Regions from separate parts of the Homo sapiens genome. Here regions 1, 3, 4, 5 and 6 are each linked to region 2. The links are contacts of gene promoters, found by promoter capture Hi-C in human tissues and cell types (Jung and others, 2019). All regions are on one chromosome and are shown on one strand. Each heading gives the region's core, a stretch centred on a gene start or on the middle of the fragment in contact. The rest is flanking DNA. Distances are from core to core; before and after follow the strand shown. Region 1 overlaps CCDC42 (coiled-coil domain containing 42). Region 2 holds the start of ODF4 (outer dense fiber of sperm tails 4). Region 3 overlaps LOC105371525 (a long non-coding RNA gene). Region 4 overlaps MYH10 (myosin heavy chain 10). Region 5 has its middle 13 kb from the start of MYH10. Region 6 overlaps LOC105371525 (a long non-coding RNA gene).

What was found. Contacts are between HindIII fragments. The study calls those that stand out against the background at their distance.
Region 1: a contact is called between a fragment that was not itself captured here and the fragment with the promoter of ODF4 in region 2, in 2 of the 25 tissues and cell types used here (lymphoblastoid cells and spleen).
Region 3: a fragment that was not itself captured here is called in contact with the fragment with the promoter of ODF4 in region 2 in 2 of the 25 tissues and cell types used here (spleen and stomach).
Region 4: a fragment that was not itself captured here is called in contact with the fragment with the promoter of ODF4 in region 2 in 4 of the 25 tissues and cell types used here (adrenal gland, lymphoblastoid cells, neural progenitor cells and 1 more).
Region 5: a fragment that was not itself captured here is called in contact with the fragment with the promoter of ODF4 in region 2 in 2 of the 25 tissues and cell types used here (adrenal gland and spleen).
Region 6: a contact is called between a fragment that was not itself captured here and the fragment with the promoter of ODF4 in region 2, in 1 of the 25 tissues and cell types used here (spleen).

Annotation. Positions count from the first base shown.
Region 1 is chr17:8,734,495-8,738,001 of GRCh38, forward strand. CCDC42 (coiled-coil domain containing 42) reads right to left here. Exons shown (of 7, transcript NM_144681.3): 5 at 896-1,117; 6 at 602-760. Among named protein-coding and RNA genes, the nearest start is that of CCDC42, 8.6 kb to the right of the region's middle. The HindIII fragment of the contact is 9,119 bases long and covers 1-3,507 here.
Region 2 is chr17:8,338,111-8,341,512 of GRCh38, forward strand. ODF4 (outer dense fiber of sperm tails 4) reads left to right here and starts at 1,730. Exons shown (of 3, transcript NM_153007.5): 1 at 1,730-2,395. The coding sequence starts at 1,942. LOC124903916 (a long non-coding RNA gene) reads left to right here. Exons shown (of 2, transcript XR_007065607.1): 1 at 1-181; 2 at 313-648. The HindIII fragment of the contact is 12,554 bases long and covers 1-3,402 here.
Region 3 is chr17:8,698,137-8,701,373 of GRCh38, forward strand. All of the region lies in intron 2 of LOC105371525 (a long non-coding RNA gene), which reads left to right. Among named protein-coding and RNA genes, the nearest start is that of CCDC42, 45 kb to the right of the region's middle. The HindIII fragment of the contact is 7,889 bases long and covers 1-3,237 here.
Region 4 is chr17:8,610,583-8,613,857 of GRCh38, forward strand. All of the region lies in intron 2 of MYH10 (myosin heavy chain 10), which reads right to left. Among named protein-coding and RNA genes, the nearest start is that of MYH10, 19 kb to the right of the region's middle. The HindIII fragment of the contact is 6,260 bases long and covers 1-3,275 here.
Region 5 is chr17:8,641,699-8,645,134 of GRCh38, forward strand. No RefSeq gene overlaps it. Among named protein-coding and RNA genes, the nearest start is that of MYH10, 13 kb to the left of the region's middle. The HindIII fragment of the contact is 4,355 bases long and covers 1-3,436 here.
Region 6 is chr17:8,682,056-8,685,396 of GRCh38, forward strand. The region is part of intron 1 of LOC105371525 (a long non-coding RNA gene); the gene reads left to right. Among named protein-coding and RNA genes, the nearest start is that of MYH10, 53 kb to the left of the region's middle. The HindIII fragment of the contact is 9,047 bases long and covers 1-3,341 here.

The DNA of each region.
Region 1 (3,507 bases), core at 485-2,984, 400 kb after region 2:
TTTTTTTGGAAAAGTAGGGAAAGTGCCTCTAAGTCAATTGCTGTTTTGTTTTTTGTTTGTTTGTTTTTTTGAGGCTGGCCTGGAACTCCCAACCTCAGGTGATCCACCCACCTAGGCCTCCCAAAGTGCTGGGATTACAGGCATGAGCCACCGTGCCTGGCCCCAATTTCTCTTTTTAACGAAGTGTGGGCCTCAAGCTCAAGCCTTCAGCAAGCCACAGTATCTCACTAGAATTTAATGAGGCTGTTTTGCACAACTAATGGATTCAGTAGTGGGTCCCTGCTACTGCTCTGTAGACTGGGGCTAAAAGGGTTTCGGTGCTAATGCAATGGTTCTCAAAGTATGGAACCCGAACCAGCAGCGTCACTTGGGAACTTGCTGAAAATGTAAATTCATGAGTTCTCATCTCAGATCCACTGAGTCAGAGACTCTGCGGGTGGGGCCCAGTAATACTCCTCACCCTCCCAGGTGATCCTGATGTTGTTAAATTTTGAGAGTCCCTGCTCTGCTTCTCTGTCAGGTTCATTCTTCCACCCAACCAACTGGCAACCTCCTCGGCCCAGCCGACCCCACGGGCCCAGTGCCTGTCCCCTCCTCCTACCATGTCCAGCTGCTTGTGGGTGTCCTCCAGTGCCACCTCAGTCACCTCCTTCAGGTGCTTGCTCACGATCTGGAAGAGGTTCAGCGTGGCCATCTTAATGGTGCCAAGCAGGAGGGTCTTCTTGGCTGCGGTGTTCTGGATGTGCGCCCAGCGAGATTCCTGGAGAGTGGATAAGGACGGGGCATGAGCACAGCATGTGGTGTGTGTGTGTTTGTGTGTATGTGTGTGTGTGTATGCTCAGGGCCCGCACTCACCCAGTGCCTGGGAGCCCCCGGCCCGCCCCGGGCCCCTCACCCAGAAGATGACATTGCTGCGGGCACGGTCAAAGCGCATCTGCAGCCTTGCCAGCTCATTGTTTTGCTGCAGGATCTCATCATCCTTTTCCTCCATGTAGCGCGCCAGCCGGGCCTTGGCGCGCTCAATCTTCTCCTGGCCTTCCTGCGCAGACTGCATGAGGTCGTGGCGCATGCTCACCAGCGTCTTGTAGCGTGCAATCACCTCATGGATCTCCTCGAACTGTGGTCAGGGGCTCAGGTCAATGCACAGCCAGCCCCTGGGGCCTGAGGGAGCCACCCAGTCCTGCCAACCTCCAGCCTGGATGCCTGGACACCTGGACACCTGGGCAGGCAGGCCCTTGGCCAGGGTCACGGCCAGAGGCTGTGAGGGACACTGGGGTTCCGCTGCCTGCTTCTCCTGGGTTTGTACGGGCCACGGTCCATTTGTTGGGCAGGGGGATGCACAACTGGGCTAGGGATTTTCGACTTTAACTGCATGTGAGAATCACCTGTAGGGGCTTTAAAAAGGACACCTGCCAGTCTCCACCCCCAGAGATTCAGATGAATAAACAAGTCTTCTGTGGTCTCTGGCATCTGAATTTTGCAAAAGGTCCCCTGGTGGCTCTAGGCACAGCCAGGGTTGATAATCGCTGATGGAAGGCATTTTGCAATGTCTTCCAAGGCAAGAATTTCCTATTCAACAAGATTGTACCAGGAACCACTTACAAGCCAGGAGCTATGCTAAATGCTAGGGAAATAGCAGGAGTTAGGAAAACCAGATTCTGCTCTTAGGAAGCTTACAGCTTGGGGGGTGGCATGGAGGGAGGACAGACAGACAAGTAAACAGTCAGTTACAACAGCAAGATAAGCCCTATCTATGACTGGGGGATAGGGCTGGAGGGGACTCTGGGAAAGCCTTCACGTTGGTGATCTCTGGTATTTGTTCATTTACTGAGGGAGAAGCAGGGATAGAGAGGGTGCTGGTGGGGCAGGTGGCCTGCCAGACTCAGCTCACCTCCCCCAGCCTGGTCCAGAACCATGCCACTCTGGCCCTAACCCTCAGGTCCCACTCAGTGGAACAGAAGCCATGAAACCCACGCTCTTTAGAAGGCAGCATGAACACCAGTTCTGTGATACCAAGTTGCCTTCCTAGGGGCTTATCAAAGCATGCCTTTCAGCCGCCCAGGGGAAACTTCCCGAGCACCTTCTCCATCTCGTGACATCTCCAGTGATGGATGCGTGTCCTGGGAACTGCCCTGCTGGCCTTTCCCCAAATATGCCTCTTTGGGGAAGGGCCACCCAACCCAGCACGGAAAGAGGTAGGAACAGCCAGAAAAGGTTTCATGGGAGAAAGTGTGGCTGAAATGAGATGAGAGGTATATAAATAGAAGATAGCTAGCAAAAGCAGGTGTAGGGAGGTGAGGCAGTGCTACAGGTGAAGGAGACAGCCTGGGCAAAGATGAATGGAATAGGGGGTTGTATGTTCAGGATGCTGAAGGTAGCCTGAGTTCAAGATGGGGAGGGAGAGACTGAGAAGAAGAAGAAAGGAAGAAGAAAGCAGAAGAAGAAAGAAAGAGGGAAGGAGGAAGGAAGAAGAAGAAGAAGAAAGAGAGAGAGGGAGGGAGGGAGAAAGGAAGGAAAAGAAAAAAAGAAAAGAAGAGGGAGGGAGGAAGGAAGGGAAAGAAAAAAGAAAAGAAAAAGGAAAGAAAGAAAAAGAAAAAAAGAAAAGCAAGCAAGCAAGCGAGCTCAGTAAACCTTGGGAAGGAGTGTGGACTTTATCCATTGAAGGATTTTAAGAAACAGACAATTCACGTGTGCATTTCTGAAAGTTCATCTGGCACACAGTGCAACAGTGTACCACAGTTCAAATAAATGGACCACATCAGAGCTACTAGGAACACACCTCTAAACTTAATGCTGATGTCAAAAGGATTTAGGTGCCAAATCGAAGAGCCACCCACTGCCCAAAGATGAGATGATTTGAACATTAGTAAGAATAAGTGCAAAGGATTAAAACATATCAAATATGTTAAAAATCCATCAGTTCACAATGATACTAGAAACATTACAGGTCAGTGCTAGAGAACAAATTCATTATTCTGAAAACTAAATAAAGCATTTAACAAACTTTCTCTGCGAGACCCACATAGTAATCAAATGGTGGATGAAGGAAAGGATCTCTTTATGAAGTCCTTTTCTTTATGGTAGTATTCTAGCAAATAAATGAGGAAGGGTTGCTAGTGAGTGTCTTCCCCCGACCAGTGAGGAAACCAATATTCTGACTTCTATCAATAAAGATTAATTTTACCTGTTTTTAAACACATCAATGGAATCATACGATATAACCTCTTTTGTGTCTGGCTTAAGAAGCATACCAACTAAGGGCAGTGTGAGGACCTTATATGGACTCTCATTGGAACAAACCAACTGTACAAAAAGCATCCGTGCAATAATTTGTCTTAAAAGACAGGGTCTCACTCTATTGTTCAGGCTGGACTACAGTGGCATAAACACAGCTCACTGCAGCCCTGACCTCCTGGGCTCACGCAGTCCTCCTGCCTCAGCCTCCCAAGTAGATGGGACCACATGTGTGTGCCACCATTCCTGACTGATTTTTATTTTTTAATTTTT
Region 2 (3,402 bases), core at 480-2,979:
AGTCCATTTTGTGTTGCTATAACAGAATACCTGAGGGTGAATAATTTATAAAGAAAAAAGGGCTATTTGGCTCACAATTCTGATGGCCAGAAAGCTCAAGATTGGGCATCTGTTGAGGACGTCAGGCTGCTTTCACTTATGGTGGAGGCAAGGGGGAGCTGGCTTGTGCAGAGATCACAAGGTAAGGGAGGAGCTGAAACTGTGCCCCAAACAGTTAAATAAACCAGTGATTAACAGACATTTTCGAGTTTACAGGATGGCAGCTAAGAAACAGCTTGCTGAAATGCTGAAAAATCCCTTTGCTTATAACAGGACTGGCTGAAATCAGTGGGAACCCGTATGGCTGACAGCAATCCGCACAGAACGAGCTTGCTGATGTCACAGCCTGAATTTCCACCTGCTGTTTCATACTAACGCCACCAAATTTGCACATGCAACCCACGAAGAACCTTGGAGATAACCAGACATGATTAAGGACTTTCTAGACTTCTCCTTTCTTTCCACCAATCACCCGCTAATCCCAGAATCCTCCCCCTAAACCTTTTCTAATAAAAGTACTGCCTTAAGACCAGCAAAGAGAGACAGATTTGAGCTGGATTCCCGTATCCTCGTGGGTCAGCTCACAATAAAGCTTTCCTTTTCTCAAAACCTAGTGCCCTAGTATTGGAGTATTGGCTTCTATGCACATCTGGCAGCGAGCACTTTTGCTTGGTAACAGCGCCAGGTTCTTTTTAACAACCAGCTATTGCGGGGAGCTAATGGAGTGAGGTCTCAGGGAAGGCGTTAATCCAATCACAAGGCATCTGCCCCCATGACCCAAACACCACCCACTAGGCCCTCTCACCTCCCATCACCACCACACTGGGGAGCAAATTTCAGCATGAGGTTTGGTGAAGACAAATTAACCATATGCAGACCACAGGAGGGCCTCTCACATACCATTGCTCATATGTAAAGGGAGGCAGAAGCTGGAGGGAGGTGTCAGATCCACAGTTCTGAGCTGTGGCCTGAGAAACAGGATTTCCGGAAAGAGTTAGAGCTGGAGCCACAGGCCAGGCAAGGTGGCTCACACCTGTAATCCCAGTGCTTTGGGAGGCCAAGTGGGGAGGATCTCATGAGGCCAGGAGTTTTTTTTTTTTTTTTTTGAGGCTGAGTTTCACTCTTGTTGCCCAGGCTGGAGTGCAATGGTGCGATCTCGGCTCACCGCAACCTCCGCCTCCCAGGTTCAAGCAATTCTCCTGCCTCAGCCTCCTGAGTAGCTGGGACTACAGGCATGTGCTACCACGCCCAGCTAATTTTGTATTTTTAGTAGAGATGGGGTTTCTCCATGTTGGTCAAGATGGTCTCGAACTCCCGACCTCAGGTGATCCACCCACCTCGGCCTCCCAAAGTGCAGTGATTACAGGCGTGAGCCACCGTGCCTGGCAGAGGCCAGGAGTTTGAGACCAGGCTGGGTAACATATCAAGACCCCATCTCTACAAACAATTGAAAAATTAGCCAGGCATGCTGGCACAATCCTGTAATCCCAGCTACTCAGGAGGCTGAGGTGGGAGGATCACTTGAACCCAGGAGTTCAAGGTTGCAGTGAGCCAAGGTTGTGCCACTGCATCCCAGCCTGGGCAATAGAGGGAGACCCTGTCTCTCTCTCTAAAAAAAAAAAAAAAAAAAAAAAAAATTGCTGAAGACTTGGCTTCCCTCCCCCATCTCACTGTGCCCCAGGAAAATTCCGTGGCAGTTAGGGGACCTGGCCTGCTGAATGGGTTGGGGCCTTCTCTTGGATCAAGAGTCTCTTATTTGATCGAGGTCTGTTATTAGACTTCCTCATTCTTTCTCAGACCTCAGGCTGCATGGTGGCAGCTGATGAAAATATCCAAAAGATGAGAAGAGACAATTGAGTCTGGTGAGGGAAAGGGGAGACAGAGGGTGAAGTGGTGCTCAAGATGGATGCAGAGTACTCTGGGAATGAGTTCCCCAGGTCAGAAGGAGAAAGAGACCAACATCAGAGACCTGGAAAGGAAAGGAAGAGTGGGGAGGCAGGATGGGGCACAGGTGAGCTGGGACAAGATGGGAGACTGCTGTCCTCCACCCTCTCCCTCAGTAGTAACAGGTCCTTGGGCCAGCGCCAGAACTCTCCGCTGCCCTTTCAATGGAGAATCACACACAGCTTCCGCTGGATGGCCCAGGTGTTGGCCTCTGAGCTCAGCCTGGTTGCCTTTATCCTACTATTGGTCGTGGCCTTCTCCAAGAAATGGCTGGACCTCTCTAGGAGCCTCTTCTACCAGCGCTGGCCCGTGGATGTCAGCAACAGAATCCACACATCAGCCCACGTTATGTCCATGGGGCTCCTGCACTTTTACAAATCCAGGAGCTGTTCTGACTTAGAGAATGGGAAAGGTGAGCCCCTCCACCCCCCATCCCAGCCCAGGCCGCCAGCCTGTCTTGGCCTCTGTATCTGCACCCTGGATGTATTCTTGTTCCCTCTTTCTGGTCATCTTTACTTTTTGGCCTGCAAGATGGTTCCACTGGCACTGAGACCTCCGATGATCGTTTCTCATCCTGTAGCCTGGCTAAATAGATTTGATTGGTGCAATGGAAAATGTCACTGCTTTTGATAAAACCCAGAGCCAAATCTGTGCTTCTAAGAATGCTGTGAGAGAGTTGGGCATGGTGCTGCACACCTGTAGTCTCAGCTATCCAGGAGGCTGAGGTGGGAGGATTGCTTGGGCCCAAGAATTTGAGTCCAGCCTGGGCAATTTAGTGAGACTCCTGTCTCAAAAAAAAAAAAAAAAAAATCAGGCTGGGCACTGCGTCTCACACCTGTAATCCCAGCACTTTGGGAGGCCAAAGCAGGCAGATCACCTAAGGTTGGGAGATCGAGACCATCCTGGCTAACATAGTGAAACCCCGTCTCTACTAAAAATACAAAAAATTAGCCAGGCGTGGTGGCACATGCCCGTAATCCCAGCTACTCTGGAGACTGAGGCAGGAGAATTGCTTGAACCCGGGAGGTGGAGGTTGCGGTGAGCCGAGACCGCACCATTGCACTCCAGCCTGGGCAACAAGAGTAAAACTCTGTCTCAAAAAAAAAAAAAAGTTACGAGGGGCATGGACTCAGCACAAGAGAATCATTCATTAATCGCCTAATTTACCAGGGACAAGAGCCCCAGTGAGATGGGGGTTTCCTTAGTCTTGTGTACCCAGAGCTTTGAGAGGACTCCTTGCAATGTCCCCTCTCAGGCCCTGATCCCACACATTCTCCTTTCCTTCTGCCTCAGGCCTTGCTTTTCTGGATCATTTTCCTTTTTCCACATCTGGCTTCTGTGTTCCTTCTTTCCCTGAATTCTTGCAGCTGCTTCATTCCTCATCCTTGTTTTTTTCTGTTTGTTTCGCTGATTTTTTTA
Region 3 (3,237 bases), core at 330-2,829, 360 kb after region 2:
CTGCCTTGTCCCCAGCATCCACACCTGATGCATGGCTGCGTGCACCACCCTGCAAGGGAGCTCCCACTCTGGGCCAGACATTGTGCAGGAGGCCAGAGGAAGGTGACAGTATAGAGCAGATCCTGGCTCTCACGCAGCGTGTCCTGGATGAGGCAATGGACTGCTGCCATACGGGGCATCCAGCCAGACACAAGGGCTCAAGGAAGCTTCTGGGAGGAGGCGACACTTGAGCTGAATCTTAAAGAACAAGCAGTAGTTAGCCTAATGATGGATGGGGATTAGAACCGGAAACCCCGGGCTGAGGAGAGAAAGCGGGGGAGAGAGACCAGATGGGGCTGAGTGCCTCCAGGTGTGGAGAGACGTGAGGCTGGAGGTAAACAGGGGCCAGAGCATGGAGCCTTTTTCTAGGAGATGTTAAAGGGACTGGGTCTCTGTCACCATCTCCCACTCCCAGCTCCCAGCCTTCTATCTCACAGCTCAGTCCACCACCGCGGAGCATGGGTCAGGTCAGGCACGTGTGCACGCGCGCGCGCGCGCACACACACACACGAATATGCCCGGAAATGTATACTCAATGCCACATCACATAAGCAAGGACATTTAGCAAAAGGGAAGAAAAGAAGAAAAATGATGTTCAAATGAGAACCAGGGAGAGACGGCAGGCCTGGGGGAGGGCACTCAGCCAGGAAGGGGAGAGGAGGAGTGGAAGTGGGAAGTGCGTGGGCGGGAGAGCCAGGAGGCTGTTGATGGAAAGGGAGCTGGAGAATGCTCTGGGCTCTCCGCAAGGGGAAGACACAGACAGCAGCGGAGACAGCTGGTCAGCAGAGGTGGTGGGAGTGGGGGGCGAAGCACAGAGTCTAGAGCCCAGCCTCCCCCATCCAAGGCTCAGCTCGGATGTGTGTCCCCTCACGCCTCGCCCGCGGGAACTGTGGCTCCTCCTTTAGCTGACCACAGTGGTGGGCATTGGCTGCAGGAGGTCCCTGAGAAAGCCCTCCAGTGTGGTCCAGGAGGGAGATAGGGCCTGGGGATCTGTCTGATGCTCCGCTTTAGTGTGGATACATTGATCAGATGTGTTCCCTGGCATCCTGGAGGGTTCGAAAGCCTGTTCTGAAGGGTGAGTGTCCTTCATGGCACATGCCTCAGAGACCTGTGTTCCCTGTGCATTCAGAGGGGAGGATCATATTTTAGGACTCAGCCGAGGCTTTGCTTCCACCTCCTTGGCTCCTCAGGGCTAGGCCAGGGACGTGCCTGTGTATTCGTTTGGAAATCCCAATGCAATGCAGTGGGACATGCTTAGGGCAAGTGAAGGGCAGGTGCACTGTCTTTTATGACCCACCCTTGGCAGCCGCACAGTCACTTCCGTTGTATTCTGTTCAGAGCTACTGTGATACCATCAGGGAGGAGACTATGCAAGGGCACCAGTTCCAGGAGGTGAGGGTCTTTAAGGCCATCTTGGAGATTGGCCACTGCAGTCACTAAATTTTGGGGTAATTTGTCATGCAGCCATAGATGACTAATACAGGCAGAGATGTCCTTGATGGGGTGCTTGGCCCAGGGTGGCAGGCAGGTAAGGTGGGGCAGGACTTGACTCTGGGTCTCTTAGATAAGATTCTTTTCACTACAAGAGATTTAAACTTCTATTTTATTTATTTTATTATTTATTTATTTATTTATTTATTTATTTATTTATTGAGAAGAAGTTTTGCTCTTGTTGCCCAGGCTGGAGTGCAGTGGCGCGATCTTGGCTCACTGCAACCTCTGCCTCCTGGGTTCAAGTGATTCTCCTGCTTCAGCCTCCCGAGTAGCTGGGATTACAGGTGTCTGCCCTCACGCCCAGCTAATTTTTTTATTTTTAGTAGAGACAGAGTTTCACCATGTTGGCCAGGCTGGTCTTGGACTCCTGACCTCTGGTGATCGTCCCACCTTGGTCTCCCAAAGTGCTGGGATTACAGGTGTGAGCCACCATGCCTGGCCAAAAAAATTCATTTTAAACTGAAGTATAGAAAGAAATGTATGGGCCCACATAACAGAAAAGACCAGAATCAGTGCTGGTTTTGAGTAGCTGAAACTAAGATGTTAGAGAAAGTATGTGACTCGTAGTCAAATGGGACACATGGAGCACATAGGAGTGTTTGGAGGAGAGGTCAGCAGCAGCTAGAGTGATGGGCAGTGGAGATTCCTTTGTGTATGTGCTCAATTTCTACACCAAAAAAGAAAAGAACAGCAACAGCAAACAAACAGTGGAGATGCTTCTATGTGTGTGTGTGGGGGGGGTCAATTTGTTGGTTTCTTTCGCTTTCTTTGTATAGGATTCAGCACAGGCACGTGCCTATCTCAGCACCTTCACAGCAGAGAGCGAATCTCTGCATCCAGTTACCCCAGAGACACATCTGGACACCTCCCCGCAACAAAGCCCCCAAGACCTTCCAGAAGAGGAGCTGTGTCCAAGAGCCCCCTTCCTGTTATGGGAAGTGCACTATCTTCTGACCCTCATATCTGTTGCCTCTATTTGTTGCTCTCTCATAAACCAATCCAAATGGAGGGCATCTGTATTGCCAAAGGGATTGGTCACTCAGCTTCGTCGGATGCAAGAAAAGATTCTGAGGGTAGGGACGGGCATCGGTCTTGCTGACTGCCCTCTCTGCAGCTGTCAGGACTGGGCTTAGCATGTAGTAGGTGGCCCATAAATATTTGTTGAATGAACACATATCGTCGGGAAAAAGGAGGTTGTTGTAAGGACACGCAGAAGAACCAGAACTGGAACTGGAAGTCAGAGCGGAAGTGGCCCCAGGGACCAGTGAGTCTCAGCCTGTCTCTCAGGGGCTGTGTCTTTTCTCACTACGCACCTGCTAAGATGTGGCACTTGCCATGGCCTCCCCATTCCACCTCATGGCATTCTTCACTGTCAACTTTCAGCCTCCAGCTTCCAGGAGCCTTATACTATGGGTGACTCGCTTCTCTTCTATATTTAACCGCTTCCTCCAAACCAGACCCTTCCCATCAACATTTAAACATTTCAGGTCTCTCCCACTGAAAGAACAAACCAACCAACCCTCTCCAACACAAGACCTTCTCCAGTTACTGCCTTCCTTCCCTTCACGACCAGCTTCTGGAAAGGTTTTTCCACATTCCCCATTTTCGTCTCTTCCCCTCACTCAGTTCTTGCTCATTCCATTCTGGGTTCCTCTCCATCACTCCATTGACGTAAGTCTTGCTGCGGTGCCAGTGACATCCTAG
Region 4 (3,275 bases), core at 745-3,244, 270 kb after region 2:
TATTGAGAGGTGCTTAGATAATGAGGGCTCCACCTTCATCAATGGATTAATGCCAATTATAAAAGGGCTTGTGGCTATAAATTCTATCTCTTGCTCTCTCTTGAGCATGCTCTTCTTGCCCTTCCGCCTTCTCCCATGGAATGATGCCGCAAGAAGGCCCCACCAGATGCAGCCCCTTGACCTTGGACTTCCCAGCCTCTAGAACCATAAGCCAAATAAACTTCTCTTGTTTATAAATCATACAATCTGTGTTATTTTGTTATAGCAACACAAAACAGACTAAGCAACCAATCTCAATATGTCAACCTTGTTTGGATCCTGAATTGTACAGACCAACTATTTATGAGATTATTTATGAGACAAAAGGAAAATAAGAAAAGTAACTGAATATTTGATGATTAGAGAATTGTTATTTCTTTCTTAGATAGATAATAGTTATGCATCCCAAAACCCGTTGCTGAGAAGATGCTAAGCAGAGCTTTCAGCAGCACAAAAGTCTAAGAGAACAAAAATTAAAACATTCCAGTCTACTCAGGAAGAGGTTGGTGTGGCGGTGGTAAATACCCCAAGCTTTCAGCTGGGACCCTGATGGCTACACCCTAAGAGTTAAGACTATATGAGAAACAGACCAGCCCTCACACAGCGTGAAGCCCAGTTGGAACAGAAGTCAACTCCTGCATGGACTACATGTCCTAGTTTCCCTAAGCCTGCCTGCCCAAAGCAAAACTCTAGAATAAGCTTAATGCCAGCCAGAGTCTCAAACTATTTCCACAATTCCTTGTACACAATAACTGGGCATATGAGGCAACAAGTTGTGGCTGAAATCCAAGATAATATCTGGAACCTCTGTGTGTCTATTTTTATTGACTTGTATTATTGCCCTGGGTTACAATATGTTCAAGTAATTAAAGACGTGACTGAGAATTCTGACAGAGAACTGGAAACTATTAAAGGAAAAACCCAAATGAAAATTCTAAAACTGAAAAACAAAACAAAACAAAACAAAACAAAAAAAGAAAACCAGTAACTACAATTAAGAATTCATGTGTTAAACAGCAAGCTAGATACAGCTGAAGAAACAATTAGTTACACGGCATTTTAATCAGAGGCAAACAGCCAGAGTGATCCATGGGGGAAAAACAAGGATAAAAATGTAGAGGAATGTGAGACCCAGATGGGACGAGGTGAAACGATCTGGAGCATGTGAAGTATGTGAGTCCAAGAAGGAGAAAAAAGAGAATGAGGCAGAAGCAGTATCTGAAGAGATAATGGCTAAGAATTTTCCCGGACCAACAAAAGCCATCAAGCCACAGAGTCAAAACCACTACAATCTCCAAGCTGAATGCAGTAGTGCCCCTTATCTGTGGTTTCACTTTCTGCAGTTTGTTGTCCACAATCAACTGTGGTCCAAAAATATTTGTTGAAAAACTCCAGAAATAAACAGTTCATACATTTTAAATTGTGCACTATTCTGAGTAGTGTGATGAAATCTGGCACAATTCCGCTCCATCGTGCACAGACCGTGAATTATCCCTTCGTCCAGCATCATCATGCTGTACAGCTATTAATCACTTGGTAGCCCTCTCAGATCTCAGATCAACTGTGTTCAAGTCACCTTTATTTTACTTAAGAATAGCCCCAAGCACAAGAGTAGTGATGCTGGCAATTCTGATATGCCAAAGAGAAGCCACAAAGTGCTTCCTTTAAGTGATATGGTAAGTTTTCAACTTAATAACGATAAAATCATATGCTGAGGCTGCTAGGATCTATGGGAAGAATCAATCTTCTATCTGTGAATTTGTGAACTAGGAAAAAGAAATTCATCAAATCATCACAAGAAGAGTACAATAAGATATTCTGAAAGAGGGAGAGAAACCACTTACATAACTTTTATTAAGTATATTGTTTTAATTGCTCTATTTTAATAGTTATTGTTGTTAATCTCCCACCACGCCTAAATTGTAAATTAAATTTTATCATAGGTATGGCCAGGTGCGGTGGCTCACACCTGTAATCGCAGCACTTTGGGAGGCCAAGGAGGGGGCAGATCACGAGGTCAGGAGTTCAAAACCAGCCTGACCAACACGGTGAAACCCCGTCTCTACTAAAAATACCAAAATTAGCCAGGCGTGGTGGCGCACGCCTGTAATCCCCGCTACTCAAGAGGCTGAGGCAGTGGAATTGCTTGAACTGGCAGGTGGAGGTTGCAGTGAGCCGAGATTGCACCGTTGCACTCCAGCCTGGGCTACAGAGGGAGACTCTGTTCTGTCTCAAAAAAAAAAAAAAATTATCATAGGTATGTATGTATAGGAAAAAACATCATATATATATGGTTCAGTACCATTTGTGGTTTCAGGCATCCACTGGGGATCTTAGAATGTATCCCTTGAAGACAAGGAGGACCCACTATATACAAAATAAAACTTTACCTAAGCCCATCACAGTAAAAGTGTTGAAATCCAAAGACAGAGAAAATTTTAGAGACAGCCAGTGGCCGGGGTGGGAAAAGGAAAACCGATGACCTTCAAGGGAACAACAATCAAACTACAAGCTGAATTCTCAACAGAAAAAGACGAAAGGCAGAACCCGATGCAATGGCATTTTCACAATGTTAAAAGAAAACAACCGCCGGCTCTGAATTCCAAATCCAGCAAAAACCAAAAAAACTTCAAAAATAAAGGACGAGTAGATACTTCAGATAAAAGGGGCCCTTTCTAAAAGAACGGAAGCTAAAAGATGTGGAAAAAAAAGAGTAATGGATAAAACTAAATGAATATCGACAGTATTAAAATGTAATATGTGTCTTGTGGGTTTTAAAATATAGAGAGAATTAAACAACAAAAGCACATAAATTAGGAAGGAAGAGGAAATAAATTTGTTCAGGTGCTCTCAGGCCCTACCTATCATGATCTACAAAAGAATAAGAGCTCCACATGTCTAACAGGTCAAGGATCCATGTTGGAATATGTAACCACTAAAAGAATAGCTAAGCAAATAGCAAAAATGGACAGCTAACACGAGGTGAAAAGACAGAATAATAAAAATTATAACCAACGGACAAAAAGATTAAAAAATAAACATAGAGCGGGTAGGATAAAAAGAAAGCAATGAATCAGAGGACAGATTTAAGCTAAAATGTAACAGTCATTACATCACATGTACATAAACTAAATATTCCAGCTGAAAAATATTGTCAGATTTGGGACAAAAATAACCACCATAAGCAGTTTATGAGAGACATATTTTAAAGGCACAGGCACAGAAAAGCTGAAAGT
Region 5 (3,436 bases), core at 87-2,586, 300 kb after region 2:
AATGAGTGTTGTTCCTTGCTTGGAGTTTTAAATGATACAGAAACAATACATAACTGCAGAGGAAATAATCTAAGCCTATCAAAGTTCTTATAAAAAGTAAAGAAAGAATGTAATATAGAAAGACTGCTAATTAGAAGTTGTACACCCAAATAGACCATACCAACAGCCCTTACACAGAAAGATCCACTCTGATAGACATGCAGATACCTGTACACGCTTAGCAGCATTTACTCTGCATATCTAAGCAAGATAAATTGGAAGGGATAAGGGATAATCATGATATTCATGATGTGCCTTGACTGCAGGCAGGTGGTAATCTGCTGCTGCAGGTAGGATGGATGGCATGGGGGGGTGATATGATCTGGCTGTGTCCCCACTAAAATCTCACCCTGAATTGTAGTAATCCCCATGCAAAAAGGGCGGGGCCAGGTGGAGATAATTGAATCATGGGGTTGGTTTCCCCCATACTGTTCTTGTGGTAGTGAATAAGTCTCACGAGATCTGATGGTTTTATAAATGGGAGTTTCCCTGCATAACCTCTCTTGCCTGCTACCATATAAGACGTGCCTTTGCTCCTCCTTTGCCTTCTGCCATGATTGTGAGGCCTCCCCAGCCATGTGGAACTGAGTCCATTAAACCTCTTTCCTTTATAAAGTACCCAGTCTTGGGTATGTCTTTATTAGCACATGAGAACAGACTAATACAGGGGGTAAACATCTGGACTCAGCAATCAATTAAATTGGCTCCACCACTTACAACTGTGTCCTTAGACAAGCCACATGACATCTCAAGACCTTAGTTTCCTCATCTGTTAAATGGCAATGATGATAGCACAGACTGAATGAGATTGTTTTAAGGATTAAATAAGACAATGCATGCAAAGACTTGGCCTACCATTGGGCTCTTAGGAGGCTATTCTTTTCTTTTCTTTCTTTCTTTTTTTTTTTTTTTTTAAAAACAGTCTCACTCTGTCACCCAGGCTGGAGTACAATGATGCAATCTCAGCTCACTGCAGCCTCGATCTCCTGGGCTCAGGTGATCTTCCCACCTCAGCCTCTTGGGTAGCTGGGACTAAAGGCATGCACCACCACACCTGGCTAATTTTTTGTATTTTTTTTTGTAGAAATGAGGTTGTGTCATGTTGCCCAGGCTGGTCTCGAGTTCCTGGGCTCAAACCATCCACTCACCTCACCCTCCCAAAGTGCTGGGATTACAGACATGAGCTATCACACCTGGCCATATCTAGCTATTCTTAAGTGCTCAAACTTGAATCTTATTAAGCGTCTGAATCTACTAATTTACAGAAAATACAGAGGACAGAAGACCATGTTAAACCATACCAGAGTAATGCAATCGACGAAATCCAGGATGTAGAAAGCGTCACAGAACAAACAGCCTGGCTTCTTCAACCAATAAATTGCAAGTAAAGGAAACAACAAAGAGATGGGCCAATGCTATAGATTAAAAGATACTTAAAAGATACATCAACCAATTGCAACGTGTGAAGCTTTTTTGGGAGCCTGATTCAAATAAACAAACAGTTTATGAAACAATGGAAAACAAGTAATTTATGAAACAATCGGAAATTTGAATGCAGACTGGATATTAGATGATATTAATAAAGTACTGTTAATTTTTAAATGTATGGTAATGCTATCGTCGTTATGTAAAAATAAAGAATCCTTTTCTTTTAGAGATGGGCACTATAAAATTACAGATGAAATAATATGGTGTCTGGGATTTGCTGTGAAATAGTATGGGAGAGAGTATAGAAAGAAGTTTGTTCATGAATTGTTGAAGTTGACTAATGAGTATACCGCTCTCTCTTTATTTTTGGATATATTGGAAATTCTCTATGAAAGAAACCTTAAAAATTACTTTGGTTGATATGATTTTTATTGGGAGTGCCAAATCCTAGTGGGGAAAAATGAGATCCTGGAGAAAATAAGAAATTGTTCAGCTTGAATGTTACAATCCTCATAATCTAGTGTCAACCCACCTTCTCAATTCACGCCTCGTCCTTCAACACAGATGTTTCTCCCAGTTATCACCTCCAGTTGGTCTTGTCATCTTCTTTGCTTCTTTCTGGCCATCTTCCCCGCTTTGTTTGTACTATTTCCTCCTGGAAGGCCCTTTCTCCGCAAATTCACCAGGCCTGGTCCTCCCCACCCATCAAGACTGAACCCCAGCTGGGCATGGTGACTCACGTCTGTAATCCCAGCACTTGAGCCCAGGGGTTCTGGACCAGCCTGGGCAACATGGCGAAACCCTGTCTCTACAGAAAAACAAAAAGCAAAAATTGATTGCACGTGGTGGCAGGTGCCTGCAGTCTCAGCTACTCAGGAGGCTGAGGTGGGAGGATCATTTGAACCCAGGAGGCAGAGGATGCAGTGAGCCAAGATCACGCTGCTGCATTCCAGCCTGGGTGACAGGGGGAGATTCATCACCATAACAACAACGGCAACAACAAAACTGAGCTCAAAGTTCACCTTCGCCCTGAAGCTTCTCTGAATACTTTAGCCAAAATTTTTTTGAATTCAATAGTAAATGTCGGCTCAATTCGTGATCCCGAATCTGCCTCAAGTACATGTGCAGTCTCATCTCTCCCCTCTCATAGATAATCCTGAAAACTGGATTAAACCCAGTTCCCTGAACATAACCCACGCTTTCTCGTTACTTAGATTTTGATCACAATACCTTCTCTGCCAGGGCCTCTCTGATGTCTCCATCTATTGAAATTCTATCCATTCTTGGAGGCTTATCTACCAAAAAGTCCTCCTCCACCAGGAAGTCTTTCTCTACCTCTACTCCCAACACACCTGCAGCCCAACTAAATGTGATCCTGTTCTTTTAATTTCTAAAATGGTATTAAAGTGTTGGTGGAAAACAGTCACTGAGCCCTTTTGTTTTGAATTGACCCATAATAATTGTATATATTTATGGGATACAGTGTGATGATTCCATGCATGTATACATTGCGTAATGATCAAATCATGGTATTTAACATATTCATCATCCCAAACATGTATCATTTCTCTGTGATGAGAACATTCAGAATCCTCTCTACTTATTTTGAAATATATACTATTTAATATGATATCATTTACCGTAGTCATCCTGCTGTGCTACAGAACTTATTCCTCCTATCTAACTGCAATTTTGTACTTGTTGACCAATCTTTCTCCATCATCCCGTCTCCGCTAACTTCCCTAGCCTCTGGTAACCACTATTCCACTCTGTACTTCTATAAGATCAGCTTTTTTCAGATTCCACAAATAAATGAGATTTACAGTATTGTCTTACTGTGCTTGCCTTATTTCATTTAATACCCAGTGACCACTTTGAGAATCTCATGGGAACTATGGACCTTCACTCTCCTTTCCATTTGCACATGTGTTTGCATGTGCAATGTTATAGTTGATTTTGGGGGGAAGGC
Region 6 (3,341 bases), core at 161-2,660, 340 kb after region 2:
TGTCGCCCAGGCTGGAGTGCAGTGGCGCGATCTCGGTTCACTGCAAGCTCCGCCTCCCGGGTTCACGCCATTCTCCTGCCTCAGCCTCCGGAGAAGCTGGGACTACAGGCGCCCGCCACCACGCCCGGCTAATTTTTTGTATTTTTAGTAGAGACGGGGTTTCACCGTGTTAGTCAGGATGGTCTCCATCTCCTGACCTCGTGATCCGCCCGCCTCGGCCTCCCAAAGTGCTGGAATACCGGCGTAAGCCACCATCCCTGGCCCCAAAATTTCCCATTTTCCAACAGTAGACTCTGAATGCCATCTGGTCATAGCCTGTTTTTTGTGTTTCCTTTTTCTTTTCTTCTTCTTCTTTTTTAAAATATAATTCAACCCAACTTTATTTTATTTTTTATTTAAATTATACTCTTAAGTTTTCGGTTACACGTACAGGATGTGCAGTTCTGTTACATAGGTATACACGTGCCATGGTGGTTTGCTGCACCCATCAACCTGTCACCTACATTAGGTATTTCTCCTGTTATCTGTCCCCTAGCCCCCCACCCCCCACAGTCCCTGGTGTGTGATGTTTCCCTCCCTGTGTCCATGAGTTTTCATTGTTCAACTCCTACTTATGAGTGAGAACGTGCGGTGTTTGGTTTGCTGATCTTGTGACAGTTTGCTGAGAATGATGATTTCCAGCTTCATCCATGTCCCTGCAAAGGACATGAACTCATCCTTTTTTATGGCTGCATAGTATTCCATGGTGTATATATGTCACATTTTCTTAATCCAGTCTATCACTGATGGACACTTGGGTTGGTTCCAAGTCTTTGTTATTGTGAATAGTGCCGCAATAAACATACATGTGCATGTGTCTTTATCGTAGAATGATTTATAATCCTTTGGGTATATACCCAGTAATGGGATTGCTGGGTCAAATGGTATTTCTAGTTCTAGATCCTTGAGGAATCACCACACTGTCTTCCACAATGGTTGAATTAGTTTACACTCCCACCAACAGTGTAAAAGCGTTCCTATTTTTCCACAAGTGTTTTGTTTTTCTTATATGCACTTTGGGAACTCTTCTTGGCATTAATTATCTTTTTAATTAATTAATTATTTTTTGAGAGAAGGTCTTGCTCTGTCACCCAGGCTGGAATGCAGTGGCACAATCATGGTTCACTGCCACCTCGAACTCCAGGGCTCAAGAAATCCTTCCGCTTCAGCCTCCTGAGTAGCTGGGACTACAGGTGCACCACTGTGACTGGCTAAATTAAACAAAATTTTTTTTTTTTTTTTTTTTTTTTTGTTAAAGATGGAGTCTTGCTTGCCTAGGCTGGACTGTAACTCCTGGGCTTAAGGGATTCTCCCGCCTCGGCCGCCCAAAGTGCTGGGATTACAGGTGTGAGCCACTCGTGCTTGGCTGACACTGATTGTCTTTGATGTCCAGTTTCCATTCTTCCTGCTTTTGGTAATAGTCGCCCATTTCCATCCGGCAAAATACCCCTCCCCACTCCCAGTCCTGTGACCCACAGGGGTTGCTAACACTCCACTCTCTCCCACCCCCACCACCATCACCACACACACCCCCCATGTACCTTGGGTCATACATGCCCTAAGCCTTGCCAAAAGAAAAGGATGAATTCAGTGAACACCTATGATCAGTGGAGCTTTTAGACTTCAGGTCCTTTCTTCTTAGAAATTAATTTCTTAAAATAGTGAATACATTCACATGGTTCCAGAAAAAGCATGGGAAGTTGAATAGTAATAAAATAGAAAACTATAAATCAAAAAGTAAATAAATTGAAAATTTGATAACAGAACAAGACATTTGCATAGTCTTCAAGTGCTTCCCCACAAAATCTCATTTGTTAGAAAGGGAAAAAGAGGAATTTTGCCAAGGAGAACCCTGGCAGACACCACATTAATAAAGCGATTAATGTTAATGTCATCGGTAATGGGACAAATTGTAATTGTGTGCCGATTGATAGATGCAATGAGAAGGTCATATGTCACTCCTGTGATATTCCCGCCAAAGATTTGTAAGCTGAATCTAATCATGAGGAAATATCACAGCATGCCTATGCCTTGGCATAGTGGCTCACCCCTGTAATCCCAGCACTTTGGGAGGCCGAGGCAGGTGGATCACCTGAGGTCAGGAGTTCGAGACCAGCCTAGCCAACATGGTGAAACCCTGTCTCTACTAAAAATACAAAAATTAGCTGGGCGTGGTGGTGCCTGCTTGTAGTCTCAGCTACTTGGGAGGCTGGGGCATGAGAACCGCTTGAACCTGGGAGGCAGAGGCTGCACTGAGTCAAGATTGTGCCACCGCACTCCAGCCTGGGCAACAGAGCAAGACCCCGTCTGATTATTGGCCTGTAATCTCTCTGGTCTTGAAGGCTACGAAAAGACTGAGAAACGATCCAGATTGAAAGAGAATGAAGGCAACATATGATTATGAAGTGGATCCTTTTGCTATAAAGGACATTATCGGGACACTTGAAAGGTAGAAATATATCAGTGTTAATTTCCTGATCTTGTTGATTGTATTGTGCATATGTGGGGGTTTCCCTGTAGGAATTTAGATACTAAAGTATCCACAGGTGATGGGGCATCATATCAACAACTTACTTTCAAATGGTTCAGGAGAAAAAGATATTTTTTTACCATGCTTGTAGCTTTTGTGTAAATTTGAGATTGTTTCAAAATTTAAAAAATGGTTTCAAATTATCTAGTACAAAATTTTCCCTCTAATCACTGAGTTTCATCTGCCTAGTCCTTCCCCAATAAGGGGTAACCATGAATCCTGGTACGTTCTTTAGAGATTTTATTTTCAATGTATCTGTAGGAATAAATAAGCCATGCCCACAACATAAGAGGCACTCTTTTTTTTTTTTTTTTTTTTTTTTTTTTTTGAGATGGAGTCTTGCTCTGTCGCCAGGCTGGAGTGCAGTGGCGCAATCTCGGCTCACTGCAACCTCCACCTCCCGGGTTCAAGCGGTTCTCCTGCCTCAGCCTCCCGAGTAGCTGGGATTACAGGCACATGCCACCATGCCCAGCTAATTTTTGTATTTTTAGTGGAGACCATCCTGGCTAACACGGTGAAACCCTGTCTCTACTAAAAATACAAAAAATTCGCCGGGTGTGGTGGCGGTGGGCTGTAGTCCCAGCTATTCGGGAGGCTGAGGCAGGAGAATGGCATGAACCCGGGAGGCGGAGCTTGCAGTGAGCCGAGATCACACCACCGCACTCCAGCCTGGGCAACAGAGCGAGACTCCGTCTCAGAAAAAAAAAAAAAAAAAAAAAAAAAAAAAAAAGCAAAAAGATCATTCCGTGTAGGAAATAAAAAATTATGGGGT